Regions from separate parts of the Homo sapiens genome. Here all the other regions are linked to region 2. Evidence: promoter capture Hi-C in 16 types of primary human blood cells and fetal thymus (Javierre and others, 2016). All regions are on one chromosome and are shown on one strand. Each heading gives the region's core, a stretch centred on a gene start or on the middle of the fragment in contact. The rest is flanking DNA. Distances are from core to core; before and after follow the strand shown. Region 1 holds the start of BTN3A2 (butyrophilin subfamily 3 member A2). Region 2 holds the start of H1-5 (H1.5 linker histone, cluster member). Region 3 holds the start of BTN2A2 (butyrophilin subfamily 2 member A2). Region 4 holds the start of H1-3 (H1.3 linker histone, cluster member). Region 5 overlaps LOC124901287 (a long non-coding RNA gene). Region 6 holds the start of TRS-AGA2-1 (tRNA-Ser (anticodon AGA) 2-1). Region 7 has its middle 1.9 kb from the start of TRQ-TTG3-1.

What was found. Contacts are between HindIII fragments. The CHiCAGO score rates a contact against its expected background, and 5 or more counts as called.
Region 1: the fragment with the promoter of BTN3A2 here is called in contact with the fragment with the promoter of H1-5 in region 2 in 14 of 17 cell types (activated CD4 T cells, naive CD8 T cells, total CD4 T cells and 11 more); the score reaches 19.0 in activated CD4 T cells.
Region 3: a contact is called between the fragment with the promoter of BTN2A2 here and the fragment with the promoter of H1-5 in region 2, in 3 of 17 cell types (naive CD4 T cells, monocytes and M0 macrophages). The highest score is 6.4, in naive CD4 T cells.
Region 4: a contact is called between a fragment that was not itself captured here and the fragment with the promoter of H1-5 in region 2, in 11 of 17 cell types (erythroblasts, fetal thymus, M0 macrophages and 8 more). The highest score is 34.2, in erythroblasts.
Region 5: a contact is called between a fragment that was not itself captured here and the fragment with the promoter of H1-5 in region 2, in 3 of 17 cell types (M0 macrophages, fetal thymus and monocytes). The highest score is 9.4, in M0 macrophages.
Region 6: a contact is called between a fragment that was not itself captured here and the fragment with the promoter of H1-5 in region 2, in 1 of 17 cell types (total CD8 T cells). The highest score is 6.8, in total CD8 T cells.
Region 7: a fragment that was not itself captured here is called in contact with the fragment with the promoter of H1-5 in region 2 in 12 of 17 cell types (monocytes, total B cells, fetal thymus and 9 more); the score reaches 13.1 in monocytes.

What each region holds. Positions count from the first base shown.
Region 1 is chr6:26,363,743-26,366,481 of GRCh38, reverse strand. It overlaps BTN3A2 (butyrophilin subfamily 3 member A2), which reads right to left and starts at 1,284. Exons shown (of 11, transcript NM_007047.5): 1 at 1,130-1,284. RefSeq lists an enhancer at 1,277-1,326. The HindIII fragment of the contact is 4,055 bases long and covers 1-2,739 here.
Region 2 is chr6:27,866,315-27,869,014 of GRCh38, reverse strand. H1-5 (H1.5 linker histone, cluster member) reads left to right here and starts at 1,427. Exons shown (of 1, transcript NM_005322.3): 1 at 1,427-2,223. The coding sequence starts at 1,486. The coding sequence ends at 2,166. RefSeq lists enhancers at 1,168-1,237, 1,498-1,607. The HindIII fragment of the contact is 3,270 bases long and covers 1-2,442 here.
Region 3 is chr6:26,381,829-26,384,566 of GRCh38, reverse strand. BTN2A2 (butyrophilin subfamily 2 member A2) reads right to left here and starts at 1,459. Exons shown (of 8, transcript NM_006995.5): 1 at 1,386-1,459; 2 at 652-775. The coding sequence starts at 745. RefSeq lists a silencer at 1,521-1,610. The HindIII fragment of the contact is 7,335 bases long and covers 1-2,738 here.
Region 4 is chr6:26,232,989-26,235,688 of GRCh38, reverse strand. H1-3 (H1.3 linker histone, cluster member) reads left to right here and starts at 702. Exons shown (of 1, transcript NM_005320.3): 1 at 702-1,477. The coding sequence starts at 756. The coding sequence ends at 1,421. It also overlaps the pseudogene H2AC9P. RefSeq lists enhancers at 189-1,176, 1,090-1,499, 2,330-2,379. The HindIII fragment of the contact is 501 bases long and covers 1,004-1,504 here.
Region 5 is chr6:26,290,404-26,293,103 of GRCh38, reverse strand. The region is part of intron 1 of LOC124901287 (a long non-coding RNA gene); the gene reads right to left. Among named protein-coding and RNA genes, the nearest start is that of TRX-CAT1-2, 5.2 kb to the right of the region's middle. The HindIII fragment of the contact is 1,254 bases long and covers 641-1,894 here.
Region 6 is chr6:26,326,110-26,328,809 of GRCh38, reverse strand. It overlaps TRS-AGA2-1 (tRNA-Ser (anticodon AGA) 2-1), which reads right to left and starts at 1,221; the gene lies at 1,140-1,221. It overlaps TRR-ACG1-1 (tRNA-Arg (anticodon ACG) 1-1), which reads right to left and starts at 670; the gene lies at 598-670. The region is part of intron 2 of LOC101928743 (a long non-coding RNA gene); the gene reads left to right. The HindIII fragment of the contact is 3,995 bases long and covers 1-2,700 here.
Region 7 is chr6:26,307,978-26,310,677 of GRCh38, reverse strand. No RefSeq gene overlaps it. Among named protein-coding and RNA genes, the nearest start is that of TRQ-TTG3-1, 1.9 kb to the left of the region's middle. RefSeq lists a cis regulatory region at 708-822. The HindIII fragment of the contact is 1,578 bases long and covers 658-2,235 here.

The DNA.
Region 1 (2,739 bases), core at 35-2,534, 1.5 Mb after region 2:
AAAAAATATAAAGGAATAAAACCTTAAATACTCTGTAGTTATATACTTTGCTAATGGAAGTGGAAATGTTTCTGGAAGCATTTGGCCATGTACACATGGCAAGTGCCTTTAAAATGTTGTATTATTTGCCCCCAAAATTCCAACTATAAAAGTTAGTGTTGAAGAAAAAAATTTAGAGATTGATGCAAATATTTATGGATAAGGCTGTTCAATCTAGTAAAATCTACAGTAACAAAATGTAGAAACTGAAAAATCCAAAATAAAGAGTTTTAAAAATAATTCGGGTTTTTTATTTGTTTGTTTGTTCTTTTTTCTTCTTTAGGAGCGGCTTTCTGAGTCAGAGTAGGCTCACAGAGACTCCCAATAATTATATATTCATACAATGTAGTAGCTTGTAACCATGGGAAATCATGCTTTAGGTTTTGGGGAAATGATGAATGGAAAGAAAACCAAGTACTATCCCTAAAAGATACCAAAAATGGTTTAATATAAGGATCCAGTGTTATTAAAATTATAAAGAATTTCACTTAATTAAAATTATGATTCCTAATGGTTACATGGAACATGTTTTATGACTGAACCATGCATTGTTTGTCTATTCCCCACCTGTTGAATATGTATGTTGGTTCAGATTTTACTATATTATAAATACTTCTGTAATAAACACATTTACATATAAATCTATGAGGCACATCTCTTTTTTCTTCTTCTTCTTCAGAATTTCTCAGAATAGATGCCTTGAGTTGGCCAGAACAGATTTTAAGGGTTTTTTGTTTGTTTGTTTGTTTGCCCTTTTCTGACCACAATACGTTAAGAACATGCAGTTGGAATATTTCTTCATTCATGTTGTCTCCCTTTCCTTCCACTAAATCCCAACCTCTGCAGTTCCTTATACTTTGCAGTACTTCTCCCGTCTTCCCACGTGCCCATATGTGCATGTGCGAGTGTGCACATGTACACATGTACACACACACACACACACACACACACACACACACACACACACAGGCACTGCACCCCTTTCTCTGGGAGAGTACTCTCCCTGCATGCCCACTCACCACTCTCAGCGATTCAGCCCCGCTCCTCCCATGCGTTGTAGCCCAGGCTCTAATCAATTTCCTGCACTTACCCCTTGGTATTCCCATTGGAGAATCAGAGCCCACAGAATAAAGACGGTCAATCAATAATTCTCCATTCTTTCTATTATGGCTTAGCCTCTCATCCGGAAGAAAGGAAAAAGAGAAAGCAAATATTGTCTTCTCACCATGAGAAACAGTAAGAGTCGCTCTTTGGAAGAATTAGTTTTTTGATTGGCTCAGAGGTGATGTTTCTCATCAGTTGCTGGGCAGAAACCACTGAGGAACGTTGAAATGAAAACTGAAAGTACATTGAATTGTACACGTTGAGGAAAAACTCCAGCCCTACCTCCCTTAGTGTTTGTGTTTCTGTGTTTATCTATTTGAATCATTCTTGTGCGTGGATGTATATAAGTATTTCTTTATATTCACCTGTCTCGTGTCTTTTACATGGTAATAGAAATATTAGCAGAATGGAGTAGGAAAGTAAAAAAATTTAATGTGCAAAGAGAGGAAGATGTGCACTAATTAAGATGCTTCTGTGGCAGTTTGCTTGCATGTAGATAGGTACGTAGAAGAGGAGGATCTTTTTTACAGAGCCTAATAAAGGTATGAATGGAAAGAAAATGAGACAAACTGCACCTCTTTAAGAACTTCTGGCATTTAGGCTTAGGATATGGTATCAAATAATATAATTTTTCTGATTTCCAGAGGCAGTGCTGCTTGACATTGTTTTACCTTTCCCAGGAAATTCTTACTGCAGATCTTTCTGAGCATCTTCATTCACCCTCAGCTCCTGGTTTGTGCTATATTGTATTTTCTTGGGTATTTGTTTCTCACGCTGCCAGTGGAGTACATATTCTCTGAAGCTAGACACTCCATAGGCTGTGGTCTCTGTAAGGCTCGTTTCCTGTACACCATCTCTGTAAGGAGTTTATGGGACAATCTTGTTCTCCCTGTGGCTTACGACCTCAAAACACACTTTTTTGGGCTGCAAGCCAGAAATCTCCTAGAGCTAATATGTGACTGGAGCTGATGGGATTTGATTATATTGCAACAGTTTGAATTTAGGCTGTGTGGTATCTGCTTGAGATGGCTGGTTGCTTCTGCAGCGTGCATGCCCCCTTCTTCTTAGTGACAAGGCCTAATTTTCTGGGGTACTGCATCCTGCTCTTCCCCCTTGAAGATAGGGCAGGCCAAGGGACTAAGTTGGAGCCAGCGGTTTGTAGGTGAAAGTTGTGGGCTTGTACTTCTCCCAGAAATCCTTCAAAGGGAGGCCAAAATAGCTGGGAGTGTGAGGGTACACTCTCCCTTCTTCCTTCTTCCTCTTGCCTAGAACATGGACTTTGGACCCGGAGGTGCAGTAGCCCACCCTGGGACCATGAGGCAGCCTTGAGGTTGGAAGCCACACACTGGGACAGCAGAGAATGAAGTCAGAAGCAGGCTGGGGCATGAATGACATATCTGAGGTGCCAGATCAGCCCTGGACTGTCACCATCTAAATTTATTTAAAAAATTTTTTCTTTTAAAATATTTTATTATATATTAGTACTCAGGGTAAATTTCCAAATAAGTTTGTTTTTCATGAAAGGAAAACAAATCCTTGTTTTATTTAAGCCAGTGGTACTTCTGGTCTCTGTTATCAACAGAAAAACACAATTTT
Region 2 (2,700 bases), core at 178-2,677:
TTGTTTTTTTTTTTTTTAACAATACTTTTAAAACATAAAGACACTTCTTAGCTTGAGGGCCATACAGAAAAAAGCCATTGTCCAGATTTGGCCATAGTCTGCCAACTTCTCCAGGAGTTCTTAGAAGATGAAGTGCATTGGCTACTTTAAATTTTCTTGCACAGCATTTCAAGAATGAGAAATAAGTGACTGTTGATTTCATTAGGAATCCAAATCATCATTTGATCATTTTTATCATCCAGGCATCCTGTCCAATCCCCTCCACCTCCCATAAATTGTAAACTTCATTTATTTCAACCTCAGTGTATTTGCCTATGTTTTCCTGAGTTCCTCTGAACCTCTATAATGTGAAGTCGCTCAATATCCAATCCAACCTTTTCACAGTCAATAGCCAGATATTCTTCTAAAATATTAGCGCTAAAACACACAAAAATACCCATATTGATGTATCCTGGCTGCTCATAGAAGAGAGTATTCCTGATGGTGCAGCTTGTTAAATGTGGGTGGAGATTCAGGGGGAGCAGTGAGAACATTTCGAAAACCTGACAGTGTCCTGGGCCACCTAAACAGTTTGTGCATTTGAGGATCACTGGGAGCTCTTGAATAATTTTCCACAAGTTTGAGTTTTCTCTAAACTGAATTATCTATATTATTTTTCTTCCCCTTTTTTAATGGATTTGCCCAGGAACTAAAAAGAGAAAACACTCTAATTAGAAAACATAACACATTTAAGTTTGAATGTGAATCTGAGTAGTTAGATCCTTAAGTCAAAGCGATTTGTATTACTGGTGCTGCAATGCAGAAGAAGTCACTCTGACTGTGGAACTCTTCCAAGCTGCAAAATCCCATTCTGTAAAGACATTAGCACATGGAAACTCCTAGGACACAGAACCAGTTTGTAAAGTCAAGTCTATGTGGTTAAGTTGGGGCTGTAGGCAACCAGCTGTCCTGTGCCTGTGTTACTTGCTACAGTTAGAAACAAACTTCATGCCCAAACCAAGGAACCCAGTGTCTTTTCTCTTGCAAAAATCAAAGCATGAACTCATGGGCAAATTTTTAAAAATAACTTTCACTGGATACTTAGTAGAAATTTATCGCGACACGCTACTAACTAACATGATGCCCTCAGCCCAATGGATTCTTATGAAAAGCTGAAGGGATTTTTTAAAATATCTTTCATCAATTGCACAAGATTCTTGAAAACACAAACAAGTATGTGAACCTGGAGGCTGTTTTCCTCCTTTGGAGCTTCAAAGTGCCAAATTCTGTACCATTGTTTTAAGCATTTAATCAAATTTTGAGGACTAACAAACACAATTTGGGAGTCCAACCGCGAGCGGCGGCGGCCAGAGGGCGGTGGATTGGACGCTCCACCAATCACAGGGCAGCGCCGGCTTATATAAGCCCGGGGCCCGAGCATAGCAGCAACGCAAAACCTGCTCTTTAGATTTCGAGCTTATTCTCTTCTAGCAGTTTCTTGCCACCATGTCGGAAACCGCTCCTGCCGAGACAGCCACCCCAGCGCCGGTGGAGAAATCCCCGGCTAAGAAGAAGGCAACTAAGAAGGCTGCCGGCGCCGGCGCTGCTAAGCGCAAAGCGACGGGGCCCCCAGTCTCAGAGCTGATCACCAAGGCTGTGGCTGCTTCTAAGGAGCGCAATGGCCTTTCTTTGGCAGCCCTTAAGAAGGCCTTAGCGGCCGGTGGCTACGACGTGGAGAAGAATAACAGCCGCATTAAGCTGGGCCTCAAGAGCTTGGTGAGCAAGGGCACCCTGGTGCAGACCAAGGGCACTGGTGCTTCTGGCTCCTTTAAACTCAACAAGAAGGCGGCCTCCGGGGAAGCCAAGCCCAAAGCCAAGAAGGCAGGCGCCGCTAAAGCTAAGAAGCCCGCGGGGGCCACGCCTAAGAAGGCCAAGAAGGCTGCAGGGGCGAAAAAGGCAGTGAAGAAGACTCCGAAGAAGGCGAAGAAGCCCGCGGCGGCTGGCGTCAAAAAGGTGGCGAAGAGCCCTAAGAAGGCCAAGGCCGCTGCCAAACCGAAAAAGGCAACCAAGAGTCCTGCCAAGCCCAAGGCAGTTAAGCCGAAGGCGGCAAAGCCCAAAGCCGCTAAGCCCAAAGCAGCAAAACCTAAAGCTGCAAAGGCCAAGAAGGCGGCTGCCAAAAAGAAGTAGGAAGCTGGCGTGTGAAAACCGCAACAAAGCCCCAAAGGCTCTTTTCAGAGCCACCCAGAGACCTCTAAAAAATGGCTGTGCACAACATGTTAGATCAGGCAGCAAGATTCCTTGCATTCGAAAAATCTCGGGCAGTTCTCCCTCAACCCTAATCGAGTAACGCAAGGCAAGCAAGAGTCCAGGGTGTTGGTTGGACTCCCCACGTAGTTTACCCATGCAGTCTGTTATTAGAGTATGAATTCCAGCCGTTGGTTTTTGTTAAGTTGGTGTCAAGCTTTTTGTCAGACGCCTAGCTACAAAGAAGCTTCTTATATTTTAAAAAGCCCGCTCTATAATCTGATTGGCCAGTTTTTGTTCCATCATCTGTATGTGGTTTTTCCGCGTTTAAGCCATTTAGGCACCAGCTACTTCGGCGTCACTAATGTGTTCGGCATTAATATAATATGCTATCAACGCACAAGACAATATAGTAGCAAGTTTCAAGATGGGGTCTCTATTACATGCCAATTTGATATGACCGTGTCATTCTGTACT
Region 3 (2,738 bases), core at 210-2,709, 1.5 Mb after region 2:
CATTGGTAATAGTTCTATTAACTAAGCATTTAAATATTGATATGTGATTATTTATATGAAACAAAATACATTATTAAAATTTATTTCAAGTATGTTTTTACCTTTTAAAATAAAAAGTAGAATAGGCACAGGGTCTTGCGCCTGTAATTGCAGATATTTGGGAGGCCAAAGTGGGAGGATCCTTAACAGCTAGGAGTTTGAGACCAGCCTGGGCAAAATAGTGAGACCCTGTCTCTACAAAAAATAAAACTTAGTCGAGTGTGGTGGCCCTTGCTTGTACTCTCAGCTACTTGGGAGGCTGAGATGGGAGGATCCCTTGAGCCCAGGAGTTTCAGGTTACAGTGAGTTATGATCTCATTCTCCATCTGCTTCATTCCGGCCTGGCAACAGAGCAATATACTCTCTCTTAAATAAATAAACAAATAAATAAAAAGTTAAAAAAATCTTTTTGAAGATTTGCACTTGTATATGCACTTGACCTTTGTGCTTCACTGTGTTTCTTTTGGACAGTGCTGGTATAAATTCAGTGAACATGTTCAGAATGAAAGGATAAGTCAACAACCCCACAGTTCTTCCTTCTTTCCCTTTGCAGACTACAGGGTTGATGTTCCTTTCTGAGAGGTGACAGCAGCAAGTGACACACATCCCTACCTGAGACCAGTGCACACAGGCTGAGAAGGAGGAGGAGCAGGAGGAGGAGGAGGGAGGCTGGCAGGGAGAAGTGCAGAGCAGCAGCTGGTTCCATGAGCACCCAGGGCAGGCAGAGACCAGAGGCCTAGGGTTACAGAGGAGGAGAATCAGCCTAGGAGTCTTGGCACCTCAGTGCTGGTCGGGCCCAACCTCTCCTGTCACTCAAGTAGGTCTCATCGGTGCCCCAACTTCTGGGAGTCGCTTGCATCTCAAGGCTCAGGTATCTCCGAAAGAGGGATTCCGTAAACATTCCATAAGTAAGCCATCAATGCAGAGATCAAGGGGGCCGTTTTCCTCCTTCCTCTTCCCACTTCTCGGGCCACAGTCCGGTTTCTTCAGTTGTCCCTGGATTCTTTCACACCCTCGTCCCTCCACTTCCCCCTCCCCGAGACCCAGGTCGGGACACTCGAGGTAAAGCCAGGCGAGGCTGCGCCTCCCCACCAGTAGGCTTCCTGTCTCCCAGGTCCCCCTCTCCTCTCCAGAGCAGATCCCGCTCCCCGCACCTACCGCCCCCAGCTACCGCCCCCACCCCGGAGCTGTAGCGCCTCCTCTCCCTTTCCTACCTTCTAGAACTAACCTCTGTTTTCTTTTCCCCTCTGATCCTCACATGACGATTTTCCGATACAACTCACCCATGGGCACAGTCACCACCAGACAACAAAGCATCCCAAAGAGAAGAGAAAAGCTGTGTTCACCTCCTATTAATCGCGATGTTTGGAGTTGCGGACTCGGTATCTGGGACCTGTTCTCTGGGTGTCCAAAAAGTCCCAAGATTTCCACTGAGCAGTTTAGAGCCCAGGATTGGCCGAGTGAGGCTGAACCAACCAATGGTGTCTCGAGCCTTATTTCTCAGCTGTTACTAGGTAGAATACACACACAAAAACCCCCCAAAAATCTCAAGCAGCAAATAACCTTTTGGGATTATTAGGTATTTCTATTTCCTTTTTCTGTCTTTGGAAGCAAGACTTTTTTCCTTTATTTTCCTTTCTTCCTTCCTTTCTTCCTTCCTTCCTTGCTTCCTTCTTTCCTTTCTCATTCTCTTTTTCTTTCTTTCTTTCTTTCATATGTCTCTCTCTCACTTTATTCTTTCTTTCTTTCTCGCTTTCTTTCTTTTTTCTTCCTTCCTTCCTTCCTCTCTCTTCCTTTCTCTCTTTCTCTTCCTTCTCTTCTCCTTCCTTTCTTTCTTTCTCTTTCTTTCTTTCTTTCTTTCTTTCTTTCTTTCTTTCTTTCTTTCTTTCTTTCTTTCTTTCTTTCCTTCTCTCTCTCTCTCTTTCTTTCTTTCCTTCCGTTCTTTTACAAAGCCTTGAGATCCCCAAGGTGTCAGTGGCTTTGCTGGTGTAGACGAGGAGAGGGCTCTCTATGTAGAGTGATTTTGCTGGGGAGGAAACATGAGGAGGAAAACATAAGCCGCCGTCTTTCCAAAGCCAGAGGACTCTTGTTCATGTTGCTGGCTTTGAAGGTTGGGCCTGGTGCGCGGGAGGCCTTGGGGGAAGCAGGCATGGCTGGAGTGGGAGGGGTAGCAAAGGAAAGGTGACAGCAGTTGCAGTGGCTGTTATGAAGGTCTTGTTGTTCACTCCAAAGCTATTGGATAAGACGTGCTGAGAATACTGAGTGAGGATTAAAAACCCTTTCCCACGGGGAGGTGGTATTCTGGTGGAGGCAGAAGATGGAAGTGAGCAAAGACTTTCAGTTGACCTTGACCTTCTGCCAGTAGGTGGTGGGGTTAAGTCCAAGGACCACACACACACACCAGCACACATAACCTCCTCCCCATGAACATAATCCCTCCCCCACAGAATCCAATCTTGTCATTGTATAGATATCTTCCAGAATAATCTTCCCAAGGCCCAGTTGTCAATAATCCCCTCAAATGTCTAAATACTTAGTCTGGAACTGGTGCAGTGGCTCACACCTGTAATCCCAACACTTTGGGAGGAGGAGGCAGGCAGATCACTTGAAGTCAGGAGTTCAAGACCAGCATGGCCAACATGATGAAACCCCGTCTCTACCAAAAAAAAAAAAAAAAAAAAAATTAGCTGGGTGTGGTG
Region 4 (2,700 bases), core at 5-2,504, 1.6 Mb after region 2:
TTAGGACTTTTTTTTCTGTAAGAGGAATAATGTAGCCTCACCCTTATCTTTCTGGAAATGTTTAAACCACTGAAATATGGAGATCAAATCCAGCTTACACACTGGTAACTCAAATACTATTTTTTTTTTTAAACTATCTTTTCTAAACTAATCACCCCTCTTGTACATAGAACTTTCTACCTCAGTGCCAATTCCTAGAGGTTGATGCAAACAGCTCGCCAGAGAGCCTGTGCTATTGTTCCTGCGAAAAAACCCAATTTCCCTGCACATTTGGATAAAAATGAGTTTATCTATATAAAGTTGAGACGGTAAGAATTCACAGAACAATGCCCTGGAAGAGAGATTTGCAAATGAAAGAGGGAGAAATAGTATTTTTAAGGAAAACATGAAAGTTGTCTCGATTTGACCGAAGTTTGAAAGAGAGTTGGGGGAATAAGAAAAGTTTCAAGATGCCGGTTTTAAAACTATGCATAGAAACAAAGGCAGGAATGAAGCCCGAACTCTCTCGGATCAGTTTCCCCCAAGTCTCTAATTATTTCATGCCCAGATTTCTTATATTTTTACTCTTTTTTAAGGGGCAACAAACACAGCAGCGCGGTAGATACGAGGAGTCCTTTTCCAGCAGCGCCGCGCATGGAGCAAGGAACCAATCATCACTCAGCGTCTCTCTATATAAACCCTCAGCCTCCCTCGTAGAGGACATGCTGTTCTGACAGTTTGAGATTACTTATTGTCTTTTCTGGGAAGACAAAAACATGTCGGAGACTGCTCCACTTGCTCCTACCATTCCTGCACCCGCAGAAAAAACACCTGTGAAGAAAAAGGCGAAGAAGGCAGGCGCAACTGCTGGGAAACGCAAAGCATCCGGACCCCCAGTATCTGAGCTTATCACCAAGGCAGTGGCAGCTTCTAAGGAGCGCAGCGGCGTTTCTCTGGCCGCGCTTAAGAAAGCGCTTGCGGCTGCTGGCTACGATGTAGAAAAAAACAACAGCCGTATCAAGCTTGGCCTCAAGAGCTTGGTGAGCAAAGGTACTCTGGTGCAGACCAAAGGTACCGGTGCTTCTGGCTCCTTCAAACTCAACAAGAAAGCGGCTTCCGGGGAAGGCAAACCCAAGGCCAAAAAGGCTGGCGCAGCCAAGCCTAGGAAGCCTGCTGGGGCAGCCAAGAAGCCCAAGAAGGTGGCTGGCGCCGCTACCCCGAAGAAAAGCATCAAAAAGACTCCTAAGAAGGTAAAGAAGCCAGCAACCGCTGCTGGGACCAAGAAAGTGGCCAAGAGTGCGAAAAAGGTGAAAACACCTCAGCCAAAAAAAGCTGCCAAGAGTCCAGCTAAGGCCAAAGCCCCTAAGCCCAAGGCGGCCAAGCCTAAGTCGGGGAAGCCGAAGGTTACAAAGGCAAAGAAGGCAGCTCCGAAGAAAAAGTGAAACTGGCGGGACGTTCCCCTTTGAAAATTTTAAACGGCTCTTTTCAGAGCCACCCACAGGTCTCAGTCAAAAGAGCTGAAGCTTTTTGGAGGGGGGAGTGGGGTGGAGAGGGGTGCGGGTGCTGCGGTGTTGTGCGGCCACGGTCTATCCTAGTCGTGCTGGTTGGGGGTCAGTTATTAACAGCTCCCAGCAGCCTGGGCGCAAGGATCCTTCCGTCTCAGTCTCAGCCACAGTCACCGGATAGCTAAGGCTACTTGAGCCACCAGGTCCTACTTTTTCTTCAAATTCCCGCGGTGGTGTGTGATTGGCCGGCCGATTTCTGTTAAAGCGCGGCGCTTAAAAGTGGCCCTGAAAAAATTTTATTTCTGACACAGGGATGTGGTGTAAATGCTTTAGTTTACTTTAGCGTTGAGGTGACTTCCTGAGCACATCCCGTCCTGGTTGTGAGCAGTACGTGGCATGCCCAAGGTGCTTCCGGCCCACGATCTTGTGCAGCTGGTCGTTGAGAATGGCCAACTGCTGGTGGTGCCCGGTGTCTGTCTTTTCGCAGGCCTTTGATAAGCCTTAGCTTTGGGATATCGGCCCTCAGGTACTGTATTTGTAAATAGTGTGGGGGCTGCACTGCGTGACGAGGTGGCTCTCCTGTAATCCCAGCATTTTGGGAGGCCGAGGCGGGGGCATCACGAGGTCAGGAGTTCGAGGCCAGCCTGAAGAACATGGTGAAGCCCCATCTCTGCTAAAAAAAAATACAAAAATTAGTCAGGCGTGGTGCCGCGCGCCTGTAATTCCAGCTACTTGGGGGCTGAGGTAGAAAATCACTTGAACCCGGGAGGCGGAAGTTGTAAGCCGAGATCGCGCCACTTGCACTCCGGCCTGGGCGATAGAACGAGACTCCGTCTCAAAATAAAAAGTGTGCCCATTGTCTTTTTCTGTCAGTGGCCAGCGTCTCCAGGACTTATTTTCCCAGGGGCTCTCTTGCTTGTTCATTTATTTCTGCCTACTCTTAACCTCCTAGCACTGCCGCCAGGTAACACTAGCATGCTGGTCCAACCCGCTCGGAGTAGCTGTATTTGCGGAGGACGCGGTGTATTAGCCCTACTGGCAACTGTAGGCCCGCGTGGCAAAGCAGGTCTTGCTTTTGGCGCGAGTGTGGTCTTGCTTCCCACGTCCAGGTAATGTTAGAAAAAAATGCAATTCTTGTATTAAGCCAATCGGAGGGATAGTTCATCATAGCCTCTGGCTCAGTTTTGTAAAACTTGCTTTTTCTGTTGGTTTGCAG
Region 5 (2,700 bases), core at 18-2,517, 1.6 Mb after region 2:
ATTGATAATCCAGGATTTAAAATGTTAAAGAAAATGGGATTCAGAGTGGAAAAGGCTTAGGAAAGCCCCTGCAGGGAAACCCTGATCCAATATCAATAACTGGACAAAACAGAAAAGGGCTAGGTCATCAGGATTTTTGGTGGGGGTCATTGGTATTTCTCCTCCACCCACTGCTTTGCCGCTAGAGTGGCTGACTGACAAACCTGTGTGGGTGGATCAATGGCCCCTATCACAGGAGAAACTGATGCAACTCCATCAGCTAGTGAGAGAGCAACTGGAAGCAGAACATACAGAATAGTCAGCCCCTGGAATTCACCTGTATTTGTGATCCAAAAATGTCAGGAAAATGGCAACTGCTACATGATTTGAGAGCTATTAAATGCACAGATTAAACCAGTGGGTGCATTACAGCAAGGTCTGTCATCCTCAGCAGCCATTCCAAGAGATTGGACTCTTGTAGTAATAGGTCTTAAAGAGTTTTTTTTTTAATATACCATTACACAAAAAGGATAAGCCTCAATTTGCCTTCTCTGTGCCTTCTATTAATCAAAGAGAGCCTGTCTCTCGCTCTCAGTGGAAAGTTTTAGCCCAAGGCATGCTCAACAGTCCTATGTTATGTCAGCATTTTGTAGGAAAAGCTTTAAAGGAGCCTCGCAATATATTTCCCAATGCCTACATCATTCATTATATGGATGATATTCTTTTGGCCGCTCCTACAGATCAAATGTTACATCAGTTATTCAGGGAAATAAAATGAGTCTTGACTGCATGGAATCTCAAAATAGCTCCTGAAAAGGTGCAAACAACCTCCCCATACCAGTACTTAGGTACTATTGTTACTGGAAGAAGTGTTCGGCCTCAGAAAGTAACTCTCTGTAGGGAGAGGGTACAAACTCTGAATGACTTCCAACAATTATTAGGGGATATCAATTGGCTGTGCCTGATGCTAGGTATTGCCATCTACCAACTCACACACCTTTATCAAACCCTCCAAAGAGATTCTTCATTAGATTCTCCTCGGCAACTTACTAACGAGGCAGAAGCTGAGTGACAGCGTGTAGAACAGATCCTTCAGCAACAACATGCCTCCCGGCTACAGCCACAAAAGCCTTTGCTTTTGTTTATTCTTCCTACCCCCCATTCTCCATCAGGATTTTTAGGCCAATTCATAGACAAATCTGTAATGGTAATATAAAGGCTTTTTTTTTTTTTATTCAATCTGACAGTGAAATCTTTGCAAGTTTATCTTTCTTTAATTACTCAACTTATAACAATAGGTAGGCACAGGTAAAAAATGCTTACGGGATATGATCCTGATAAAATTATTGTTCCCTTGGATTCCCAACAACAGGCCGCAGCATGGGAAATGTCGACTGCATGGCAAATTGCTTTTGCAGATTTTGTGGGAATAATAGATAACCATTATCCATCAGACAAGATTTTGCAATTTTATAAAGTTCACCCTTTTATCCTCCCTGTAATTACCCATCACAAGCCCATTCCAGGTGGAAAGACATATTTTACCAATGGCTCTTACAAAGGCCGCACAGCTATTTATGCAACTAAACATACTCAAACAATAAAGATCTCTGGAGTTTCAGCTCAATGCTCAGAGTTAATCGCAGTTATTCAGGTTTTAGAGCTCACGGCTTTATCTCCTATTAATATTGTTTGTGATTCAGCCTATGTTGTAAATGCAGCTAGTTGCATTGAGACTGCCACTATTAAGGGCACCCTAGAACCAGAGCTGCTTAATTTGTTTCTAAGACTTCAGCAAGCTATTCTCTCTTGTGCTGCTCCTATTCGCTCTCATACGCAACTTCCTGGACCACTATCTCAAGGTAATGATAAAGCAGATAAATTAATTGGTTCTGTATTCCAACAAGCCCAAGCTTCCCATGCATTACTGCATCAAAACACCTCTGCCCTTACTCATATGTTTCATCTGCCTTGCAGTCAAGCTCAAGCTATTGTGCAAGCCTGCTCCACTTGTCAGCATGTCCCTGGTGTTGCACCCGTGGAAGGATGCGACCCACGAGGCTTGGCTCCAAATGAAATCTGGCAGATGGATGTTGCACATACAGCAGCCTTTGGCAAACTTAGCTATGTTCATGTGACTATAGACACCTACTCCAATATGTTACATGCCACATGTCAAACAGGGGAAACTGCTGGCCATGTCCAATGGCATTGTTTGTCGTCATTTGCCCATATGGGGGTCTCTAAACAATTAAAAACTGACAATGGACCTGCTTATGTTAGTCATGCTTTTCAAAATTTTTTACAGTTATGGGCAATCATTCATAAAACAGGAATTCCTTACAATCCCCAAGGACAAGGCATTATAGAGCGGGCACATCAAACACTACAGCGTATGTTGAGAAAAAAAGGGGGAATAGGAGACCAGCTACCACCTTAAACAAAATTACATTTAGTCTTGTTTACTTTAAATTTTTTGATGCCTGGTATGGATGGTAAGACTCTAGCAGAACAACATTGGCAAGTGTTAGAGGGAAAGAGGCAAGTTTATCCAAAGGTGTTATGGAAATCCCCAGAAGAAGGACAAAGGAAAGGCCCAGTGGATTTGCTGATGTGGGGATGAGGGTATGCTTGTGTTTTTACAGGAGATGGACAAACTGTGTAGGTGCCCTCCAGGTACGTGCAACCATGGAACGGGAGACTGGAGGGATCCGTGGATCG
Region 6 (2,700 bases), core at 26-2,525, 1.5 Mb after region 2:
TCTCAATCGTAACTCTCACAGAATGACACAAGGTTTTCCCAAACGGACGTGGTGGCTCACGCCTGTAATCTAGCACTTTGGGAGGGCGAGGCGGGCTGATCACTTGAGATCAGGAGTTCCAGACCAGCCTGGCCAACATGGCGAAACCTCCTCTCTATTAAAAATACAAAAATAATTAGCTGGGTGTCGTGGCACATGCCTGTAATCCCAGCTACTCTGGAGGCTGAGGCTAGGAGAATCGCTTGAACTCAGGAAGCAGAGGTTGCGGTGAGCTGAGATCGCGCCACTGCTCTGCAGCCTGGGCGACACAGTGATACATCTCAAAAAAAGAAAAAAAAATTCCCCTGTATTAAGTTTTATCAAGCAATGTGAAAATTGGTCAGTTCTGAAACTTATCAATTTAGTGATGTGATTTAAAAAAAAAAAACTCTTATGTATGTAAAACAATAGTGAACTGAAGCTGGAGTCTATATTATAAAAATTTTTGTCATCTTGTGTAATTCTTTTAAAAATTAAAATGATAAAATACATAAAATGTATATGAGTGCCCAGGGAAGGGGCATTTATGTAAACCTCAAAGTTTCCACTAAAGTCGAACGAGCCAGCCAGGAGTCGAACCTGGAATCTTCTGATCCGTAGTCAGACGCGTTATCCATTGCGCCACTGGCCCTCTGACGAACGAAGACAGGCGTTATACCTATAGAAAAAAACGTTTTGGGATTACCGCGTCCTCCTATACATGAATATATGAAATTTTATTTCTTTCTGATCATAAGGATTTTGAACCCAAAACCCTCCAATTAAAACAAAATATAGTTTTATTTGTTCCTTTGACTTGTTTTACTCATGAAGTATGATTCCTTCGTGGGTAATGAGAAATCCATCCTTGTGCACAATGATTCCTTCCTGAACAATGAAATATCCATTATGATGTAACTTGTAAAAGATCAGAGATAAGGTTTACTTTGGGCAATGAGAAATCCATTTTGAGGACCTCTGAGACATAAATTGAAATTGTCCTGCCCTGAATCCCCAAGAAATCCATTTTGATGTTAACTTGTAAAAGATCGAAAGCCTTTTTACACGTGAAATATCGATCGGTCGGATGAAACCTGCTTGAAGATGCAAAAACCCACTGCCGTAGTCGGCAGGATTCGAACCTGCGCGGGGAGACCCCAATGGATTTCTAGTCCATCGCCTTAACCACTCGGCCACGACTACAGATACCAAAAACCTTATTAAATGTCTTACATGTTTCCATACATCACATATTGTACTCCTTTTATTAGGGATTTAATAATAGCTGAATTCGTATCTTAAGAATAAAACTTGGAAGCAATCAACAAACTTCAAATTCAGGCACATACATGATACGCTAAGAATGTTCTTTGGGTCTTTTTTATAATGCAAATCAGGAATATGTTTCAACAACTTTTACAATTCTCATATTTTTGCCTAGTAAGAAAATTATCCTCAGGCCGGGCGCGGTGGCTCACGCCTGTAATCCCAGCACTTTGGAAGGCCAAGGCGGGTAGATCATGAGGTCAGGAGTTTGAAACTGCCCAACATGGCGAAACCCCGTCTGTACTAAAAATACAAAAAAATTAGCCAAGGTGGTGGTGCACGCCTGTAATCTCAGCTACTCGGGAGACTGAGGCAGGAGAATCGCTTGAACCCAGGAGGCGGAGTTTACAGTGAGCCGAGATCGCGCCATTGCACTCCAGCCAGGGCGACAGAGCAAGACTCCGTCTCGGGGGTAAAAAAAAAATAAAAAATAGATTAAAAAAATAAAAAGAAAGAAAATTATCCTCAGTAAATAACACTGATGTTCCACAGAGATCCCCTATATTTTCTGACAAAGTCCAGTGCCTGCGATATACTAACGGCTCAACAAATGTCAGTACAATTGTAACTATCATTGTAAAACCCCAGAATCTAGATTCATCAAAAGGTTCTTCAGTGAAGATAGGCTTCTGTCTTTTCATAAAACTCAGAATATTTTAACCAGCTGAAAGAACATTTCTGAAAGAAACTAGAAAGTAAAAAATATTTTTGCTGGTCAAATCCTCTTTCGTTTATGGGGCCTTCTCTCACAAGGGGAAGAACAACTGCATCTGATATTCTGTGAATAGTTTGAAATTATATTCAAAGACCACTTCCAAAGGAAGAGCAGAACCCCAGGTTCTAAAACTGCACTACCATTACCACAATACTATGCGTGTGTGTGTGTGTGAGTATTAGTGAGCAAGTCAGGGATTCTGTATTTCATCAATGGCCCAACTCTATGAACAGAAGAAGGGTAAGGAATGATTGATGAACTACTGCTCATGTGCGGATGGATTGAAAATCGTCTCTACTCCAGATCTCTCTCCTCTGGGCTCCAGAATATACAGTTGTCCTATTTTTTTTTCTTGCATGTCCATGGGCATCTCAAAAGCAATGCAACCCCAAAGGAATGTTCCATCATTTTCCTCAAACTTAAATTTCCTCCAACAATCCAAATTTTTGATGAGATACCAAAACCGAAGACTGGCTACCAAGACCGAAGACTACCCTTGTCCTTTTATGTCTCTCTGATTCCCTTCCCAGCAGGCCCTCAATTCAACCTTCTAATTAGCTCTCAAATCTGGCTCTTCTTCCCCAGCCCTCAGACCACCTTTTTTTTTTGTTTTTTTTTGACGGAGCCTCGCTCTGTCATCC
Region 7 (2,700 bases), core at 197-2,696, 1.6 Mb after region 2:
CATGGCACTCTGTCCTAGAGAAAACTGTCTCTATCTACTGACCTCTGAAATTTTAGCCCTACTCCTATTTTACTTGATGTCTCTTTTTGCCTTTTTGCCCAGAGTTTCTCAGATTCTGGTAAGTTAGAATCTTGGCCCCAGTGATTAAGAGTTTGTTTTACAGCCCCCAATCTCAGTTTCTTCCTTTTCTAGAGCCTATTTAAAGCGTCCCATCTGCTTCTAAGCACTAACACTGTCCTTAAAATGTTTGGACTGCACAGCACTGCAGTTGTACACATCTTAGAGCCTCTGCCGTTTGTACTCAGTTGGGGCGCCATCCAAACTCCTTAAGCTAATGCATTGTCCACATTATTTGAAAGATTAGCTGGTATGTTAAAAGTACACATCAGTCTTTCAGTAGGGATTCAATTTCCATGTCCTGGTGACTTAATGGCTAGCACCTAGGCTTCAAATTTCAGTGGACCTGTCTCAGTTTTGGTGACCTTGCTCTTGAGTTTACCCAAATGGAGAAGCACACTTGGGCATGTATAGATAGTCTCACATATTTGCACTTCTTTTCTGGAGCAACATCCCGCTTCTTGCTCTTTTCTCTGGCTACTGAAAGTTGTCCACTGCCCATCACCCTCATGTATCCTAGAAGCTCTTCTTTTGAAAGCTTTGCTTTGCTTTGCTGGAGCCTGAAGTCAGTTAGACCACTGTAAGTTAATCATCTGCTGGGATGAGTAAAGGTTCATGTGTCAGAGGCCCCACCTATGACTTTTTTCTTCTTCAGAGCTCACTCCGAATGCTCTCTATGCTATCTCTGGACTCGGGCATGAATATGTGCAAACCACAAATTGAGTCATCTGAGAACCTGCATTTTTCTCCCTATGAGAAGCTATTAGTGTTCCTTACATTGAATCTATGCCCATTTTAAAGGTTAACTGACCAGATGCAATAGTATACAAGTCTTCCCTAGAACCTTTGTTATACAAAGATACCATGGTATAACGGTTAACACTCTGGACTCCAAATACAGAAATCCCAACTGTTGGTGGGACTCTAAATTCCTTCTGTTGACTCTCTCTACAGTTCAAAACATATCCTCCAGGGCTCTCAATGACAACAAAAGTGAGCTCCATGAACTCCTCTGGCCTCTAAAAATTGTTCCAGAAAAAAGCCCTGTAGACTTCTTTCTGCCTGTTTAGCCCTATTCATGGTACTATCTTAGTGGCTTTTTATTAGCTTCCTATTGCTTACCACAAATTTGGTGGTTTAAGACAATATGAATTTATTTTTTGTTATTTATTTATTTGTTTTTGAGACAGAGTCTTGCTCTGTCGCCCAGGCTGGAGTGCAATGGCACAATCTCATCTCACTGCAACCTCCACCTCCCGGGTTCAAGACATTCTCCTGCCTCAGCCTCCTGAGTAGCTGGGATTACAGGCACCCGCCACAAAGCCCGGCTAATTTTTTGTACTTTTAGTAGGGACGGGGTTTCACTATGTTGGCCAGGCTTGTCTCGACCTCCTGACCTTGATCTGACCGCCTCAACCTCCCAAAGTGCTGGGGTTACAGGCGTGAGCCACCGCATCCGGCCTATTTATTTTTTAAAATAGGGTCTTACACTATCACTCAGGCTGGACTGTAGTGGCACAATCATAGCTCATTGCAGCCTCAAACTCCTGGGTTCAAGTAATCGTTCCCTGTCAGCCTCCCAAGTAGCTAGGACTGCAGGTGCACACCACCATCCCTGGCTAAGACAACGTGAATTAAATGTTTTTTTGCAGTTTTGGATATCAGAAGTCTACAATAAAAGTATTAGCAGGGCTGTGTATCTTCTGGAGACATCATGAGATAATTCATTTTCCTGGCGTTTTCAGCTTCTAGTGGCCCCTTCCTTGCATCACTTCTTGCTTCTGTAGTCACATTTTCTTTTCCTGACTCTGAACCTCCTGCCTTCCTTTTATAGGACCCTCTTGATTACATTGGACCCACTTAGATAATCCAAGATAATCTCCCCATCTCAAAATCTTCAATGAAATCCCATCTGCAAAATTCCTTTGACCACTTAAGGTAACATAAGGTAACTTATTCACAGGTTCTGGTGATTGGTTGTGGACCTATTTTGGGGGTCATTATTTAGCCTACCATACCCTTTATTAATAAATAGCAGGCATTTGTTAATGCTCTTTAGATTTAATCTATTGGTCATGGCTTTTTTAAAAAAGATAATGTATAGATTTACACCAAGCTTATACACAAGTCTTTCAATAGGAGAATCTTATGGAAAGGGTCTATGATGTAATGATTAGCATCTGAACTCAGACTTGGCAAATTTATGGCAATGATGTCTTGTATTTTTACATTCTCAACTATACTCCCTTTCAGCCATAGGATCCACTGCTCTCTGGCTGATCAGGCCTTCCTGCATGTATTAGTTATCTGTTGTATAACAAATTGCACCCAAATTGGCAGCTTAAAACAACAGACACATATCTCACATGAGATATCATGAAAGTAATATCCTATCACATTTTTTATATTCTGTAGGTTAGGAGCAGGTCACTAGATCCAGCCAACATTCAAAGGGAGGAGTTTACACAGGAAGTGTGGCCACCACACTGTTAAACACTGTAAAGACCTCAGGGCAGAATAAGCCCTAATTGGAGCTGGTCTAATGCTATGACTGATATTTTGCAGACACCTTCTTTTGCTTGG